2 separate regions of the Homo sapiens genome follow, and region 1 is linked to region 2. The links are contacts of gene promoters, found by promoter capture Hi-C in blood cells and fetal thymus (Javierre and others, 2016). All regions are on one chromosome and are shown on one strand. Each heading gives the region's core, a stretch centred on a gene start or on the middle of the fragment in contact. The rest is flanking DNA. Distances are from core to core; before and after follow the strand shown.

Evidence for each region. Contacts are between HindIII fragments. The CHiCAGO score rates a contact against its expected background, and 5 or more counts as called.
Region 1: a fragment that was not itself captured here is called in contact with the fragment with the promoter of MYOD1 in region 2 in 1 of 17 cell types (endothelial precursors); the score reaches 5.2 in endothelial precursors.

The regions. Positions count from the first base shown.
Region 1 is chr11:17,617,137-17,624,075 of GRCh38, reverse strand. All of the region lies in intron 39 of OTOG (otogelin), which reads right to left. Among named protein-coding and RNA genes, the nearest start is that of OTOG, 73 kb to the right of the region's middle. The HindIII fragment of the contact is 299 bases long and covers 2,491-2,789 here.
Region 2 is chr11:17,715,420-17,721,761 of GRCh38, reverse strand. It overlaps MYOD1 (myogenic differentiation 1), which reads right to left and starts at 2,191. Exons shown (of 3, transcript NM_002478.5): 1 at 1,350-2,191; 2 at 782-860; 3 at 1-507. The coding sequence starts at 1,979. The coding sequence ends at 254. RefSeq lists enhancers at 219-730, 731-1,242. The HindIII fragment of the contact is 6,670 bases long and covers 1-2,709 here.

The DNA of each region.
Region 1 (6,939 bases), core at 1,391-3,890, 98 kb after region 2:
AACTATACATCTGACAAAGATCTTACATCCAGTATCTATAAGGAACTTAAACAAATTTATAAGAAAACAACAACAAACAAACTACCCCATTAAAAACTGGGCAAAGGACATGAACAGACACTTCTCAAGAGAAGACATACATTCAGCCAATAAGCATATGAAAAAAGCTCAACATCACTGATCATTAGAAAAATGCAAATCAAAACAGCAATGAGATACCATCTCACACCAGTCAGAATGGCTATTACTAAAAAGCCAAAAAATAACAGGTGCTAGCAAGGTTGTAGAGAAAAAGGAACACTTACACATTGTTGGTGAGAGTATAAATTAGTTCAACCATTGTGGAAAACAGTGTGATGATTCCTCAAAGACCTAAAAACACAACTACCATTTGACCCAGCAATCCCATTACTGGGTATATACCCAGAGGAATATAAATTATTCTATCATAAACACACCTGCACACATATATTCATGGTAGCACTACTCACAATAGCAAAGACATGGAATCAACCTAAATGTCCATCAATGGTAGACTGGATAAAGAAAATGTAGTATATACACACCATGGAATACTATGCAGCCATAAAAAAGAATGAGATCATGTCCTCTGCAGAAACATGGATGGAGATGGAGGCCATTATCCTTAGCAAACTAATGCAAAAACAGAAAACCAAATACTGCATGTTCTCACTGATAAGTGGGAGCTAAATGATGAGAGCACATGGACAGGTAGAGGGGAACAACAGATACTGGGGTGTACTGGAGGGTGTCAGGTGGGAGGAAAGAGAATATCAAAAAATAACTAATGAGTACTAGGCTTAATACCTGGGTGACAAAATAATCTGTACAACAAACTCCTGCGATATGAGTTTATCTATATAAGAAACCTGCACATGTACCCCTGAACTTAAAAGTTATAAAATAAAATAAAAAATAAGACATCCAAATGGCAAACAGGCATATGAAAATGTTCTTACATGGATCATCAGAGAAATGCAAATCAAAACTATAATGAGAAATCATCTCGCTCCACTTAAAATGGCTTTTATCCAAAAGACAGGAAATAACAAATGCTGGTGAGGATGTGGAGAAAAGGGAACCCTCACACTTTTGGTGGGAATGTAAATTAGTTCTCCACTATGGAGAACAGTTTGGAGGTTCCTCAAAACACTAAAAATAGAGCTACCATATGATCCAGCAATCTGGGTATACACCCAAAAGAAAGGAAATCCGTATATCGAAGTGATATCTGCACTCCCATGTTTGTTGCAGCACTGTTCACGATAGCTAAGATTTGGAAGCAATGTAAATGTCCATCAGCAGATGAATGGATAAAGAAAATGTGGTACTTATACACAATGGAGTACTATTCAGCCACAATAATATGAGATTCTGTCATTTACAAAAACATGGGTGAAAATGGAGGTCATTATGTTAAATGAAATAAGCAGGCACAGAAAGACAAACCTAACATGTTCTCACTCAAGTGTGGGATCTAAAAACCAAGACAATTGAACTCACGGACACAGGGGAAGGGTAGTGGAGGGGTTGAGGAAGAGATGGGAATGATTAATGAGTAAAAAGAAAAATTAAAAAGAATGAGTAAGACTTAGTGTTTGATAGCACAACAGGGTGACTACAGTCAATAGTAATTTAATTATACATTTAAAGATAAATAAATGAGTATATAATTAGATTGTTCGTAACACAAAGGATAAATGTTTGAGGGGAGGGATATCCCATTTTACGTGATGTGATTATTACACATTGAATGCCTGTGTCAAAATCTCTTATGTACCCCACAAATATATATACCTACTATCTACCCATAAAAATTAAAAATTAAAAAAGGATTAGACTGTTTTATGCAGCAAATTATGCAGCACATGAACTATTATGTAGAGGGAGCCTCAGCCCAGGAGTCACAAAGAAAACTTTGTGACCCTAGGAAAGCCCCTGGCTCTCCTAGCCTGAGCCTTCCTATTTGTACAGACAGAGGATTGGGCTTCATGATCCATGAGCAGTCTCTGAGTTCTGGGAGTAAACATACATACCTGAAGCCCAGAGAGGAGCCTCGCCTGCATTCATAGGACTCCATGCAAGGACAAAGAATAAAAGGTTAAAAACGAAGGACTTAGAATTCCATTTCTAACCAAGGTGGAGTAATAGGAACTGGATTTACCCTCTTGCCTTAAATGATCAAACAAACTGACAAAATATATAAAACAACAGTTTTCCAACGTGAACAGTTGGCAATGCAGGAGAGTGATCCCTGAAAACAAAAAATGGAAACAAATGAGGCAAGCCTTATGATTGTCCAAGGTTATTACTTAGAGAGTTTAGGGGCTGCAGTGCAGGGAGCAGGAACCCAGGTAGAGCCTGGTGGTTTCCTAGAGTTTAGAAGACAAGAGATAGACATTCACAAAGGCCAAGGTAGCTAGAGTTTGCATGGCAGACAGAGAGAGAGAGAGAGAGAGCTCTGAAGCTTTGCAGAATCCCCCTCCAACCCTGTCCTGACCCTGTCCTGAATTTTCAGCTGAATATTGATCAATGTATGCAGGTGAGAAAACTACCTGAGACTAGGGAAAGAACCACCTGAGAGAAACAGACAGAAAAATCCACAGAGCTAGCACAGGGCTGAGAATAGTAGAAAAACCTCCTAATATGTAGAGTATAGGGTAGGGTATGCAGAAGGGTGTTGCTTTAGTAGCAGGGAATTGGTATGTAGGATAAAGAATAAAATCACACTCAGAATAAAGGCTACTTTGGCTTTACCTAACAAAGCTTAAAGGCAAGCCTCAGAAGGATCAAACTGTTTCCAAGTAGCATAACTACTACAAAGCTCAAGAATATTTTCAAAAATAAAATGAAAGAATATCCAGCATCCAACAAGGCAAAACTCACAATGTCTGGAATTCAATTTAAAAACATTGTCAGGCATGCAAAGAAGCAGGAAAATACAACCTATAATGAAAGAAAAAATCAATCAGAACTGACTGAGAAATGACACACACGGTAGACAAGGAAATACAAACAATTATTTTTAAAATTGTTTTAACTATATGTGCTCAAGAAATAGAGGAAAACAGAAGAAGGTGAGATGTTCATGATATAAAAAGACCCAAATCAAACTTGTGCAGATGAAAAATATCATGTCTGAGATGAAAACCACTGAATGGAATTAATATGTTTAGACACTATAAATGAAAAGATTAATGAACTTAGAGCAATAAATACTATCTGAAATGAAGCACAGAATTAAAAAAGACCCAAGAGAATGATGAGCAGAGAGCATAAGTGATCTGTGGGTCCACTTCAAGTATCCTAAAACACATGTAATTGAAGTCCCCAAAAGAGAAATGAATTACCAGGCCTATCATAACCAAATTGCTTAAAAACAACTATAGAAGGAAAATCATAAAAGCAGCAAAAAGGGGTAGAAAAAAACTACATTATGTATGAAGGAACAAAGAATGACAGCAGATTTCTTACCAGAAATAAGCAAGATAAAAGATAGTGGAACTTCATAACAGCACTATTCAAAATAGCCAAAAATATGGAAATAGCTTAAATGCCCATCAATAATGAATGGATAAACAAACTGTGGTATATACATACAATGGAATATTATTCCAGCCATAAAAATAAATGAAGCATTGATACATGCTTCAATGTGGATGAACCCCCAAAACATGGAGCTCAGTAAAAGAAGCCAGACACAAAAGGTCAGATATTGTCTGACTCCACTTATATGAAATATTCAGAATAGGTAAATCCAGAGGCAACAGGCAGATTGGTAGTTGGCAGGGGCTGTGGGGAGAGGTGACTATGAAGAAACTGCTTAATGGGTATGGGGTTGCCTTTTGGGGTGATGAAAATGTTTTGGAGCTATACAGAGGCAATGGTTGCACAATATTGTGAATGTACTAAATGCCATTGAATTGTTCACTTTAAAATGCTTAATTTTATGTTTTGTCAATTTCTCCTCAATAAAAAAAAGACAGGAGCAACGTCTTATAAAGTACTGAAAGAAAAAAATATCAGCCTATAATTCTATACCCAGTGAAAGTATCTCTTAAAAATGAAGGAAAGACCAAGACTTTTTCTGACAAACAAAAGCTGAAAGAATTTATCACCAGTAGATCTGTACTACATAAGTGTTAAAGGAAGTCTTTCGAGCAGAAGAAAAATGATACCAGATGCAAATCTAGATTTACACAAAGGAATAAAAAGCACAAAATGGTAAATATGTGGTTAAATATAAACTTTCCTTGTTTTAAAAATCTCTTTAGAAGATAACTGCTTAAGGAAAAATAATAACAATTTACTGTGGAGTTTATAATAATTATAGAAGTAAATTTTATGACAATAACACAAAGGCTTGGTGAAAGGAAATAGCAGTATACTGTTATAAAGTTCTTATGGTATATATGATGCAATATAATATTATTTGTAGCTAGTCTGTGACAAAGTAAAATTACATACTGTAATATCTAAAGCAACCACTGAAGGAGAAAAAAAAAGTACAGACAATAATCCAACATTGGAGATGAAATGGAGTCATTAAAAACAATCCAAAGAAGGCAAAAAAAGGAAGGAGGGAACAAAGAACAGATGTCACAAATAGAAAATAAATAGCAACAATATATAAACATCACTATGTTGAGGACCAAATTAAACATAAATGGTATAAACATCCCCAATTAAAAGGAAGAGATTGTCAGATTGGATCTTTAAAAACTGAAGGCTCAACTATTTACCCCCTGCAAAAGTCCCACTTTTATTTGTTTGTTTGTTTGTTGAGACAGGGCCTCACTCCTGTCACCCAGGCTGGAGTGCAGTCGTGCAATCACGGCTCACTGCAGCCTCAACTTCCTGGGCCCAGGTGATTCTCCCACCTCAGCCTCCTGCATAGCTGGAACTACAGGCATGTGCCACCATGCTTGGCTAATTTTTTAATATATATATTTTTAGTAGGGATTGTGTTTTGCCATATTGCCCAGGCTGGTCTCGAACTCCTGGGCTCAAGCAGTCCACCTGCTTCAACCTCCCAAAGTGAAATTACAGGCATGAGCCTACATGCCGGCCAAAAATCCCACTTTAAATAAAAAGCCACAAACAGGTTAAAGTAAAAGGATTAAAAAAGATACATCTTAGATATACATATTAGGTATACACGCTAAAACCAATCAAAACAAAGCTGGAGAAGTTATTACAGGCAAGTCAGACAAAGTGGAATTCAGAACAAAGAGTTTTACCAGGATAAAATGGCCATTTCCTAAGAATAAAAGAGTTAATTCATCAAAAGGACATAACAATCCTGCATGTTATGCACCTAAATAACAGAATTTCAATATATGTGAATAAAAAAACTGATAAAACTCCAAAGAGAAATAGACAAATAAACAATTACAGTCAGATATTTCAACATTCTCTCAGTAACTGAGAATAAACAGATAGAAAATTAGTAAGAATTTAGAAGGCTTGAACAACACTATCAGCCAATTTGACCTAATTAACATTCATAGAACACTCCACCCAATAATAAAATACACACTTACTTAGAGCATATTCTCGGACATAAAATAAATCTTACTAAATGTAAAAGAATTCAAGTTAGACAAATTATGTCTTATGAACACAATGAAATTAAATTAGAAATCTGTAACAGAAAGGCATCTGGAAAATCATAAAATATTTGAAGATTAAACAAAACCCTTAATTCATGGGTCAAATAAAAATCAAAAGGGATATTTAAAAGTATTTTGAACTGATTGAAAAAGAAAACATAGCATATCAAAACTTGTAGGATGCAGTTAAATCAATACGTACAGGGAAAATTGTAGCACTAAATGCTTATATTAGAAAAAGAGGCCAGGCATGGTGGCTCACGCCTGTAATCCCAGCACTTTGGGAGGCCAAGGCGGGTGGATCACGAGATCAGGAGATCGCGACCATCCTGGCTAACACGGTGAAACCCCGTCTCTACTAAAAATACAAAAAAAATTGGCTGGTGCCTGTAGTCCCAGCTACTCGGGTGGCTGAGGCAGGAGAATGGTGTGAACCAGGGAGGCAGAGCTTGCAGTGAGCCGAAATCACACCACTACACTCCAGCCTGGGCGACAGAGTGAGACTCTGTCTCAAAAAAAAAAAAATAGAAGAAGAAGAAAGTTCTCAAATTAATGACATAGGCTTCTTCCTTAACAAACTAGAAAAAGAAGAGTAAATTAAACCTAAAGTAAGCAGAAGAAAGAAAATAATAAAGATAGCAGAAATCAATGAAATAGAAAATATAAAAATAATAGAGAAAACCAATAAAGCCATTCTTTGAGAAGGACAGTAAGTTTGATAAGCCTCTAGCCAGGCTAGTCAGGGAAAAGAGAGAAGACACAAATAACTAATGTCAGGAATTAGATATGGCACATAGATTCAGATCCTACAGAAATTAAAAGTATAGCAAGAATATATGATGAACAACTTAATGTTTATAAATTTAACAACTTGGATGAAATGGACAAATTCTATGAAAGATGCAAACTACCCAAATTTACCAAAGAAGAAATATATAAACAAAATAGCTCTACACCTACTAAAGAAATTGAACGTGTGTTTTAAAATCTCCCCAGAGAAAAATCCAGGCTCAGATGGCTTCACTGTTGAATTCTACCAAATGTTTAAGGAATAAATATTACCAAGTCTACATATAATTTTCCAGAAAATTAAAAAGGGGAGAATACTTTCCAACTCATTATGTGAGGCCAGCATTACTCTGCTACCAATAGTAAACTATCATATTACAAGAAAAGAAAATTTAGACTAATACCTATCATAAGGATACAACAATATATAAAAAGGATAATATAACAAATGAAGTAAATTCCAGGAAGGCAAGACTGGGTTAACACACAAAAATCAATGTAATTCATCAAATTAATA
Region 2 (6,342 bases), core at 942-3,441:
TTCAGCTCTGGCCCACCGAGGAACACGGAGCGGCCATCGCAATGGGTCTCCGAGAAGGGTGCTGCGTGGAAAAAACCGCGCTGTGTCCTTGCCCTGTGGGGCGGGGGCGGAAACTTCAGTTCTCCCGCCTCTCCTACCTCAAGAGAGGTCGCTTTTAAAGCGCTGTTGGGAGGGGGGCATTTAAGTTCAATCTTTTGGGCGCGAGGGACCCTAGGGGCACCATCCCTCGGGCGGGTGGGCGGCCACCATCCCCTCAGAGCACCTGGTATATCGGGTTGGGGTTCGCACCCGCAGGGCACTGCGGGGCGGCGTCCGGTGACTGGGTGGGGTCGCCGCTGCTCTCTCCCTCGCTGGGGGCGGCAGCCTCTTGCCTGCGCGGAGGCGACTCAGAAGGCACGTCCGCCAGCAGGAGGGCGGGCGCCGCAGGGCTCTCGGTGGAGATGCGCTCCACGATGCTGGACAGGCAGTCTAGGCTCGACACCGCCGCACTCTTCCCGGGCCTGGGTTCTGCGCGGGGAGGGCTCGGTTAGTAAGCAGGGGTGGGGCCGCGACAAGCCTCCCACCCCCGGGCCCAGTACTTTGAGACAGATTGGAAACTGAGGACTTTAGTTAGAGTCCGGGACAATCCAAAAGACAGGGAGCTACTTGCTTAGTATTTCATCTCCTGCACCACTTCCCAGGACATAGGCGTGTGTGAGTGGGGGTGGGAGCGTCCTAGATAGAGGCCAGGACAGCTCCATGAAGGAGGAGGAGCGAGCAGGGAGAGGCCCGGAATACCCACCGCTGGGCGCCTCGTTGTAGTAGGCGCCTTCGTAGCAGTTCCGCCGCCGGGCGCCGCTCGGGGGGCCGCTGTAGTCCATCTGCAAACAGCAAGGGCGACTGAGTCAGGCCCGCGGGACGGCTCGAGGCCCGAACACCAATTCCTGTAGCCGCCCCCTCCCTAACTCTAGCCTAAGGCTCTAGTTCCGGGCCCAGACCTGTCCTGGTTGGGGGGGTAATTACGGGTGGGTAGGAGATGAGGTCTGCAACATGCAGGGCCAAACCAAGGGCGGACAGTCACCAAGGGGCGCAAATTTACATTTTGGAAGTAGGGATAAGTAGAGAAAAAGATCTTCACGTTCGCGCTGCAGTGTTCTAATAGCGCCCCCAATGGGGCAGCTCGAACGCTTGCCCGCACACTTCCAAAACAGGCTACCCCAGTGACAGCTGCCCAGGACAAGGGGGTCCTCTCTCTCGGGAAGGATCCTGGCCCAAACCTCCCGCAAGGCCAGCTCCCCGCCCTCGGAAACGCGTCCCTGATATCCCGAGCGCCGCCCTAACTTCCTCACTTCCTGGGGTCCCGGCCTTACCATGCCGTCGGAGCAGTTGGAGCGCGGGCTGGACGCGTCGGAGTCGCCGCTGTAGTGCTCGCCGCCGCGGCCCGGGGGCAGCGGGCCCGGCGCATAGAAGGCGGCTGCGGCGCCAGGGGGCGCGGCGTCCTGGTCGCGCAGCAGAGCCTGCAGGCCCTCGATATAGCGGATGGCGTTGCGCAGGATCTCCACCTTGGGCAACCGCTGGTTTGGATTGCTCGACGTGCAGCGCTTGAGTGTCTCAAAGGCCTCATTTACTTTGCTCAGGCGGCGCCGCTCGCGCATGGTGGCGGCCTTGCGGCGGTCGGCGTTGGTGGTCTTGCGCTTGCACGCCTTGCAGGCCCACAGTAGGCAGCGGCCCGCCTGGTGGTGCCCGCTGGGCGCGCGCACATGCTCGTCCTCACGTGCGCCCGGGGCCGGGTGCACCGCCGCGGGGAAGTGCGAGTGCTCTTCGGGTTTCAGGAGCGCGCCCACGTGCATCAGGCGCGGGTCCAGGTCTTCGAAGAAGCGCAGGTCCGGGGAGTCGAAACACGGGTCGTCATAGAAGTCGTCCGTTGTGGCAAAGGAGCAGAGAGAGCCGTCGGGGGCCGTCAGGTCTACGTCGCGGAGCGGTGGCGACAGTAGCTCCATATCCTGGCGGTGGCGCGGCACGGTCCTGGCTTCGCCCAACCCAAGCGGCAGAGAGTGGCCGGAACTTTCTGCCGCTCGGGAGCCCCGGCTGTAGATAGCAAAGTGCTGGCAGTCTGAATGCCCACCCACTGTCCCCCACCCCTCCCTCTCCTGTCCGGCCTGATTTGTGGTTAAGGAAAGCGGCGGCAGCGCCCCAGGGCTTCCTCACCCCTAGCTTCTCGCCAGGCGCCCTGGGCTATTTATCCGTAGTAGCCTAAACGCCCCGGAGCCCAGGCGGGCAGCTGGGGGAGGGGGAGTCCGAGGCCAATAGGAACACTGCGGGGCGGGGCTTGGGGGGGTCCCCGGGGTGGCCGCAGGGGCCCGCAGACTGGCCAGCCAGCCCGCCCCTCCACACTGGCGTGCGCGCTAGGTCCCCTACCGGGCAGGGAGGGAGGGAGCGACCGGCAGCCCTAGGCGGCTGCACTTGGCTCTCCGGCACGCCCTTTCCAAACCTCTCCAACACCCGACTGCTGTATCCGCGGGAAACGCTGGCTGCGCGCGCTCACCTCTGAGCTGACTTTCAATACTCCTCTGTCCCCTGATTTGTGGGGGACCCATGGGTAGAGCGGCTGTAGAAATCAGGTCGTGAGAGATTTGGAGAGAGGCAAGGCATTGGGGGCACAGAGCTGAGGAGTGAGACCGTGAAAGAGGGACCGAAAGAGGCTGAGAGACACGCAGAAAGCAGAAAGCTTAGAGCGTCAGGGGCAGAGAAACGCACGAGTGCAACAACAGGCGGAGAGACCCCGAGAGTTGAAGTGGGCGAGCCCGAGACAAACGGGTCGTAGAGGCTCTGATATTCCGCCAGTCCCCGACCTGGGAGTTGCTCAGCAGGTCGTGGGCCCAGTCCTTCTTCCCTAGACGCTTAGAAACCCAGCTATGGTTGTACAGGAATCGGAGATTGCTGCTAAAGCTTCGCGCCAATCTCTCCAAACTCGGATCCTGCCCAGGTTAGGAATCCCCTCCATCTAAATCTGCACGTTTCCACAGCAGGGGTGTCCAGTGCCATGCCTGGGGTCTAGGCTGAGCTGCCTCTTCAGCTGGGAAGAAAACCCTTCTGCTCGGGGCTTGGCTCCGCCTCACTCGCGGTGCTGAGTCAAGGAAAGTGCATTTCGCCAAGGTGTCAAACTTCAGGACCTGGCCTGAGAACCTGACCTCATCTCACCTGAAGTCTCCGAGAGTGCGGTTTGCAGACCAGTTGAGTGCAGACTCCAGAGTTTCCCAACTGTGTGATTTTGTGGAAGTCATGTCTCCTTCCTGAGCCTCAGTTTCCAGTTATAGATTTGGGGATGACAGTAATTTCTTGGAGTAATTGTGGTGGGGATGACAGTCTGAAGAGACCAAGGATATGGAAGCCCTCAGGCGGTGATGTAGGGTTATTCGAGCAAGGGGCTTTCAGAGTTGGATGCTGTGTCCCGCAGGCTTACAACTCATCTGTGGTACCATGCCCTGACGGAGTGCCACGAGTCTCCAGGCCTTAGCTGTGTCTCTTTCCTGCAGCCTCACTGGAAAGGCTGGAAACAGGAGGAGGCAACCACCCCATGGGATGTGGGATATCTGGCTCCCATACAAGCCTCAGCATACCGGCCACCCCCATGGGGGTCTCTCAGCCTCTTCCTGAATCTGCAGTTCACACAGTCCTCTCAGCACTCTGGCTAGGAATCTCCGTTGGCCATACATCCCTGCCTGGATCTCCCCTCCTGGAAACCAGAAATTTAAGCAGGAGTGATCTTTGTGCCTTTCCCACTAACTTCTGGAAGGCATTCTAGCTGGCCGTTCTGGGCCCTAAGAAGTCCTCCCTTCCCACAAAACTCAGAGGGCTCTGTTGGGGTCCTAACTTCTTCACTTCTCTGCTGCTGGTAGTGGTGCTGAAGGTCTCCCTTCATGAAGTACTCACCTCGCTTTACTCCATAGGGCCCACCTGTATTTGTTCATTCAGTAAAGTCTACATCATGGAGCAGCAGTGACAGTAACTCTAAATCCTGGCAGAGGCAGCAAAGTCCTGGCCTCACCCCACCCAAGCTGCAGGGGGTCACCCGGAAATCCACATATTGTTAGGTATCCATTATGTGGCAGGTACCAGTCCAAGTGTGGGGCTAGAGCAATGAACAAAACCAAGACTCTGCTTACATGGCACTTACATTGTCAATGTAAGCAGGGTGATAGACAATGAACAAATAAGCAAGGAAGTATGTGATGCCAGGAGGTTAGAAGCCTTATGAAGAAAAAGCAAGGCAGGGAGACACAGTGATGAAGATTATGGAGTGATTAGAGAAGGCCTCTCTGCTACATTTAAGCAGAGACCTGAATGAAGAGAATTGGAAGCAGATACCTGGAGATATGTAGGGCCAGATAGAGGGATAAGCATGTGCAAAAGTCCTGAGGCAGGACCATGTTTGGCAGATTCAAAGTATGGCAAGGAGGCTCATATGTCTGCAGCAGGGTGAGTAAAAGAGATAGTGGGAAATGGGGTGAGAGAGAGAGAAACAGGATTATATTCTGAGATGGCTTGAGCCATCTCACTGGAGGGCTTGAGCGGAAGAGAAGAATATCACTATCTGATTTACATTTTAACAGGAGCATGCTGGTTACTGGAGGGAAAGGGCAGAAGGAGGGAGACCAATTAGGAGGCTATTGCAATAATCCCAGTGAGTGGAGCTGGTGAAAAGTGGTGGTTGAATTCTAGATATATGTTTTCAAGATGGAGCTAGCAGTATTTACTCACGATTGCATGTGGGAAGTGAGATAAGCAAGGAGCTAAGGATGACTCCTGCAAGAATGGAGTTGAGAAGACTAGGTTTGTGGGTGGTAGATTAAGTGTCCAGGTTTGGGCAAAATTTGAAATGCATATCGGATATCCAGATGGAAGTGTGGATTAGGCAGGGGGATTTTTAAGGCTGGAGTTCCCAAGGAGAGGTCTGAGTATGAGGAAGAGCTGTCCATTCTACCTCTAAGACCTGTCTCAAGTCAGTCCATCCCTAGTGTCACCATCCTGGACTAAGCTGTCACACTGCTGCTCTGGATGACCACAATAACCTGGCTGCCCTCCTCACTTCCTCTGTAGCCTCAGTATAATCCATTCGTTACATAGCAGCCTGAGTAGACCTTTACAATGTAAATGGGATTATGCCATCCTCCTGCTTCAAACTCCCCAGCAGCTTCTTGCATTTAGAGTAAAATCTCATCTCCATCCCCTGGCCTATCAGGCCCTGCATGAGCTAGCCTCAGCCTGTGTCTCTTACTACACCTGGAGGCACCATCCGTTTTGATTGCTCTACTCCAGTTAGCCTGACCTCCTTTCTTGTCTTCTAACACTCTGAACAGGATCCTGCCTTGGAGCCTTGTCCTTGCTGCTCTAAACTCATAGCATTATCCCCTGGGCTTTTCCCAAGATTGACTGCATTTTATATAATAGATCTTCTTGCCTCCTTGGGACATCACTGACCATTCCCTCTAAGATAACTGCCCCCCATACTCTGGTTCACACCACCCTGTTAATTTCCTTCCAGGCACTGCCACTCTTTATAATCTTCTTCATTAGTTTGTTCATGACTGACTTAGCCCCATGAAGGCAAAGATGTTTTGTTCACAATGACATTTCCAAAAACCATCACAGTGGCAGTCACACAGTAGGCACCTGATAAATGTCCAGTGAATGAATGAGTGGCCTCACGCCCTTTGCATCTCTATGCATATATTTGAATGTCTTGAACTGTGACATTAATGAAGATGGTTGAATTTCTTCAAAACTGGGAAGTCACATACATGATTAGACATCCATGTTCTATTACACTTGCTCTTCCCAGGAAAGGCTCAGACCCCATCTGCCTGGGGCATGTTCTCTTGAACTGGGCATTATACATGGCATGCTGCAATATTGTAGTGGTATACTATAGAGAGATTTGGCATCTCGATGTGTCTTCTTATTGTTTTTTCACTATACTCACAATGAGGAATGTAAGTAATTGTTGTATTGATGATTTAGAAACAAATACTTCTTCCTACTTGCTCAAGGCTCAGCAGAAAGCCAGGTGCATAGTAGGCACTCAATAAATATTTCTTGGGCAAATGAATGAATGAGTCTACTTAATTAAAGAGTACTCTGAGATTCCCAGGTGAGCTATTCAAACCACTTATCTATGCAAATCTAGATTTTCCCCAAATCTGAATAAGCAAGAAACTACAAAATAAATTGGATGCTGAGACAAGTGAATACAACTTTGCTTTTTGTGCTTTGTGTTTCTAAAAACTTCCTCAGGGCTGTCATCAAGTTGCCTTTACAATAAATAAGTAAATGTTATATGTTTGAACTTACCAAACACATTTA